Regions from separate parts of the Homo sapiens genome. Here region 2 is linked to region 1. Evidence: promoter capture Hi-C in human tissues and cell types (Jung and others, 2019). All regions are on one chromosome and are shown on one strand. Each heading gives the region's core, a stretch centred on a gene start or on the middle of the fragment in contact. The rest is flanking DNA. Distances are from core to core; before and after follow the strand shown.

Region 1 (2,838 bases), core at 135-2,634:
CCTAAAAGGGGGTTTTTATCTCCAGTCTCTCACTTCTATTCCATTAATCTATGTATCTACCCTTGAGATTGAGAGAGCTAGTAATTAACCGATTAAGAACTGTTTACTTGGTCAGGCGCGGTGGCTCACGCTGGTAATCCCAGCACTTTGGGCGGCCGAGGAGGGCGGATCATGAGGTCAGGAGTTTGAGACCAGCCTGGCCAATATGGTGAAACCCCGTCTTTACTAAAAATACAAAAATTACCTGGGTGTGGTGGCACGTGCCTGTAGTCCCAGCTGCGCGAGAGGCTGAGGCAGGAGAATCGCTTGAACCCAGGAGGCGGAGGTTGCAGTGAGCCGAGATTATGCCACCGCCCTCCAGCCTGGGCTACAGAGCAGGACTCCGTCTCAAACACAACAAAACAGAAAAAAACTCTTTGCTCAATACTCCTATGGACTTAATAGCAATGATTGCTGCTAATGTGATTCTAATACTTTTTGGGCATGCCATCATTGTTTAATTTCAGAGCAAACTTTCTGGAACTGATAAATAATAAGCTCTCCTTAAGAAATTAAAGTGCATTAAAATAAATTGCTTTCAGGGGTTCTTAAACAAGTTCAAGACATCCAGGAGTGTGATACATTTGAGCGAGAAATAGCTGGCCTAGTTCACTCTCCACATTAATCAGAACGTCTCCCACCTTCTTTTTAGGGATAAGCACTCTCAAATATCATTATTCATAAACTAGGGGAGGGCCGGGTTTCCACTCGCATCAGTTACTTTCTCTCCCCTGAGAATATCTTGCAGCCGCTGGAATTTTGGGCCCCTTTGCTAGGAGGCAATTAACAAATTGCACTTTTACTATCAAAGCTGAGAGTGGCCCAGCAGTGGCCCTGGCCCTGCCGGCACGCTTCCGATGCGTCGCCCTGGCCTGAAGATCGCCACAGTCGGGTTCGCGCCCCGTGGTCCCCTAAGGCTTCCAGGGCGCTGGAGCTGGTGCACAGGACCTGCTCCTCCAGGGTCCCCATCTGGGTCTCCAGCGGTCCTTCCTCTCTGCCTTCTCCTCGCAGAGCACCCCGTGGGCCTAGTCTAAACGAGGGCACCACTGGTCCGGAGTTGCACTTGTTCGCTCCCTCCTGGGCTCTGGCAGCGCTGCATCCCCGGGGTTGCTTCGGGTTCGGGCCCAATAGCAGAGTCAGAGCCGAGACGCATGTCCCCTGCACCGGCCAAGGGTGCCGCTGGGGCTCGCGCCAAGGAGGCAAAGGCGGGGACCAGAGGCGCCGGAGGCGGCGCAACGCGCACAGGTGGCGCCCGGCCTGGCCAGGCTCTGGCAGGCGAGGCTGGGTGTGGTCGTGAAGGGGCGGGCGGACCGGCCCCACACTGCCTCGGTTCGGCAAGTGGGTCAGTTGGCTGGGGCTCACTTGGCAACGGGACGCGGGAACGAGGGGCGCGGACGCAGGCCCGGGAGGACGCGGCGGCGGGAACCTGGGGGCGCAGGGCTAGGGCAGCGGGCCCGACCCGCACGGCTTTCCTGGAAAGCGCTGCCCCTCGCCGCGGCGATGCCCTCGCTGTGGAGAGAAATCCTCTTGGAGTCGCTGCTGGGTAAGCCGAAGCCCCTCGCCGCGAGTTCGCGGGTGCCAGCTCCCCGGGCCATGTCCAGAGCCGTGGAGCCAGGCCAGGTTGGCTGAGTTCAGGTAGGAGGAAAAGGGCGCTCCGTGCCCAGAGTGGAGATGCTTATCGTCCCCTGGGAACTTTTCCTACTGAAGGGAATAAAGGAAAAGACCTAGATTGAAGTCTTCAAGCTGAGTCTGCGAGGCGCCCGCGAGAGACCCCGTCGCCCGAGTTCCCAGCAGCCCTGGGATTGTGCCCAAGGAGCGCGAATTCTCCTCGTGTCGGCCTTGACCCCGCGCGGCCGGTACCGTCCCCAAAGCCCCCCACCCGTGGCCTTTAAGTTTAACTTAATACAGTTCAGTGCTGAACTTTAAAATTCAGAAGGAAAGGGGCACCCGTTTTCCCCAGGAGCTGTAGGTGGACACTGGGCGGCAGCTGCTGCCGTGGGCTGGGCCCAGGACAAGTGGCCTTGGTGTCGGCTGCACACTTGGGCATTTGGCGAAAAGCATCAGACTCGAGTCTCATCTGCTCTCTCACCAGCTTTGCAAAATCCCGAGGACAATTTTATTGGTGTAATTCTGTCGGAGCTGTGTGAGTAATAAAATCAAAGTTCCCAGACAAACATTTGGGATATTGCTAGAATCCCCGGTTCGTTACAAAACAAAGATCCCTCTGGTCTGGGTGGGGCGCCTTCCTGAGAACTTGATTTTCTGGGAGCTGGTAATTCTCGGGAGTGCTTCAGACTATTTTTTTCTGGCTCAGCCTGTATCTATAAGTTGGGAGATGTACAGTGCCTAGCATTCAATAAGTACCTCAGGTGCTAGGTACTCAGTGCACTTGATCTCATTTAATCCTCCCAACAACACTGTGAAGGGGTTGAAAGTCCTATTTTGCTGATTAAGAAGGGGAGGTTGGAAAGTCAGTTGGTAGAAAGTTCCCACGCCCAGTGGTTAGACCGGCTACCTTTGGAGCCAGGCTGCTTAGAGTTAGGGCAACTCTGACATTTGCTACTTGTGTAACCTTAGGTACTCACTTAACTTTCTGAGTCTCAGTGTTTTGTTTGTTGTTTTGTTCTTGCTTAGTTAGTTTTTGCATTTATAAGAGGGGAGCGGAAATAGTACCCACCTCATAGCTTATGGGGCTGTATAAGGAATGAGACAGATGGTACATGTTAATACTTAGCACAGACCCTAGTGCATGGCAAGTGCCCATAGCGTTAATTATCATTATTGCTCAAGATTATACAG
Region 2 (2,838 bases), core at 157-2,656, 69 kb after region 1:
CAGCATTTGCTGTCTTTTGCCTTTTTGGTACTAGCCATTTTAACAGGTGTGAGGTAATGTCTCATTGCGCTTTTAATTTGTATTTCTTTGATTAGTGATGAGCATTTCTTCACATACTAGCTGGCCACTTGGATGTCTTCTTTTGAGAAATATTTTTCATGTCCTTTGCTCATTTAAAAAAATCAGTTTGCTTTCTTGCTATTAAGTTTTTTGAGTTCCCTATATGTTTTGGATATTAGCCGTTTATCATATATAGGTTGAACATCTCAAGTAAAAAAATCCAAAATCTGAAATGCTCCAAAATTCAAAACTTTTTGAGCACTGACACAGTGCTCTAAGGAAATGCTTGGGGCATTTCAGATTTTGTACTTTTGGATTTGGGATGCTCAAACAGTAAGTATAATGCAAATATTCCAAAAATGAATCCAAAATCTGAAATACTTCTGGTCCCAGTGATTTTGGATAAAGAATACTCAACCTATATAGTTTGTAAATATATTCTCTCATCCCATAGGTTGTCTCTTCAGTCTGTTGATTGTTTTCTTTGCTATATAGAAGCTTGTTAGTTCGATAGAATCCCATTTGTCTATTTTTGCTATTGTTTCCTGTGCTTTAGGGATCATATTTAAAAAATCATTGCCCAGACCAATGTTGAAGGTTTTTCTTGATGTTTTCTTCTAGTAGTTTCACAGTTTCAAGCCCAAAAATCTTTAATCTATTTTGAGTTGATTTTTGTATATGGTATGAGGTAAGAGTCCAATTTCAGTCTTCTGCATGTGGATACCCAGTTCCCCCAACATTGCTTATTGAAAAGGTTGTCCTTTCCCCATTGTGTGTTTGGGGTACCTTTGTCAAAGATCAATTGACTGTAAATGTGTGGATTTATTTCTAGGCTCTCTATTCTGTTCTATTGATCTATATATCTGTTTTTATGCCAGTACCATACTGTTTTAATTACTACAGGTTTGTAGTGTATTTTGGAATCTGGTAGCGTGATGCCTCCAGCTTTGTTCTTTTTGCTCGTGATTGCTTAGGCTGCTTGAGGTGTTTTGTGGTCTTATACAAATTTTAGGGTTGATTTTTCTATTCCTGTGAAAAATGTCATTGGAATTTTGATAAGGATTACATTGAATCTGCAGATTGCTTTTGGTAGTATGAATATTTTAACAATATTGATTATTCCAATTCATGAACACCAGATGTGTTTCCATTAATTTGTGGTCTTCAATTTCTTTCATCATTATTTTGTGGTTTTCAGTGTACAGGTGTTTCACCTCCTTGGTTAAATTTATTCCTAAGTATTTTTTGATGCTATTGTAAATGGGATTGTTTTCTTGATTTCTTTTTCAGATAGTTCATTGGTAGTACATAGAAATGCTACTGATTTTTGTATGCCGCTTTTGTATCCTGCAAATTTACTGAATTTATTAATTCTAACAGTTTTTCAGTTTTTTTCAGTGGAGTTTTTAGGGATATATATATATATATAATCATGTCACCTGCAAATAGGGACAATTTAACTTTTTCCTTTCCAATTTAGATGTATTTTATTCCTTTTACTTGCTTAATTGCTCTAGCTAGGACTTTCAGTACTGTGTTGAATAGAAGTGCTGAGAGTGGGCATCCTTCTCTTGATCCTGATCCCAGAGAAAAAGCTTTCAACTTTTAATCACTGAGTATGATGTTAGCTGTGGGTTGTCATATATGGCCTTTGTTATGATGAGGTCTATTTCTGCTATGCCTAATTTGTTGAGAGTTTTTATCATGAAAAGATGTTGAATTTTTCAGATGCTTTTTCTGCATCTATTGAGATGATCATATGATTTTTGTCTTTTACCCTGTTAATACATTGTATCATATTTATTGATTTGCATATATTTAACTATCCTTGCATCCCAAGGAAAAATCCCCCTTGATCAGGGTGTATGATCCTTTTAAGGTACTGTTGAATTCAGTTTGCAGGTATTTTGTTAAGGATTTTCTACATGTGTGTTCATTAGGGATATTGGCTTATCATTTTCTTGTAGCATCCTTGTCTGGCTTTGGTATCAGGCTAATAATGGCCTCATAAACTGAATTTGCAGGTGTTCCCTCCTCTTCAATTATGAAAGAGTTTGAGAAGGATGGGCATTAATTTTTCTTTCATTTTTTTTTTTTTTTGAGATAGAGTCTCACTCTTGTCACCCATGCTGGAATGCAATGGCACGATCTCAGCTTACTGCAACTTCCACCTCCCAGGTTGAAGCAATTCTCCTGCCTCAGCCTCCTGAGTAGCTGCGATTATAGGCGCCTACCACCACACCCAGCTAATTTTTGTACTTTTGGTAGAGATAGGGTTTCGCCATGTTGGCCAGGCTGGTCTTTGGTCTTGAACTCCTGACCTCAGGTGATCTGCCTGCCTTGGCCTCCCAAGGTGCTGGGATTACAGGCATGAGCCACTATGGTCAATCTAATTTTTCTTTTTTTCTTTTTTTTTTTTTTATTATACTCTAAGTTTTAGGGTACATGTGCACATTGTGCAGGTTAGTTACATATGTATACATGTGCCATGCTGGTGCGCTGCACCCACTACTGTGTCATCTAGCATTAGGTATATCTCCCAATGCTATCCCTCCCCCCTCCCCCGACCCCACCACAGTCCCCAGAGTGTGATATTCCCCTTCCTGTGTCCATGTGATCTCATTGTTCAATTCCCACCTATGAGTGAGAATATGCGGTGTTTGGTTTTTTGTTCTTGCGATAGTTTACTGAGAATGATGGTTTCCAATTTCATCCATGTCCCTACAAAGGATATGAACTCATCATTTTTCTTTAGATGTTTTGTAGAATTCACCAGTG

The links. The method cuts DNA at HindIII sites, captures the fragments that hold promoters and counts their contacts. A contact is called where the count stands out against the background at its distance.
Region 2: a contact is called between a fragment that was not itself captured here and the fragment with the promoter of CWH43 in region 1, in 4 of the 25 tissues and cell types used here (lymphoblastoid cells, mesenchymal stem cells, spleen and 1 more).

What each region holds. Positions count from the first base shown.
Region 1 is chr4:48,984,891-48,987,728 of GRCh38, forward strand. CWH43 (cell wall biogenesis 43 C-terminal homolog) reads left to right here and starts at 1,385. Exons shown (of 16, transcript NM_025087.3): 1 at 1,385-1,582. The coding sequence starts at 1,540. The HindIII fragment of the contact is 14,941 bases long and covers 1-2,838 here.
Region 2 is chr4:49,053,447-49,056,284 of GRCh38, forward strand. All of the region lies in intron 15 of CWH43 (cell wall biogenesis 43 C-terminal homolog), which reads left to right. Among named protein-coding and RNA genes, the nearest start is that of CWH43, 69 kb to the left of the region's middle. The HindIII fragment of the contact is 4,445 bases long and covers 1-2,838 here.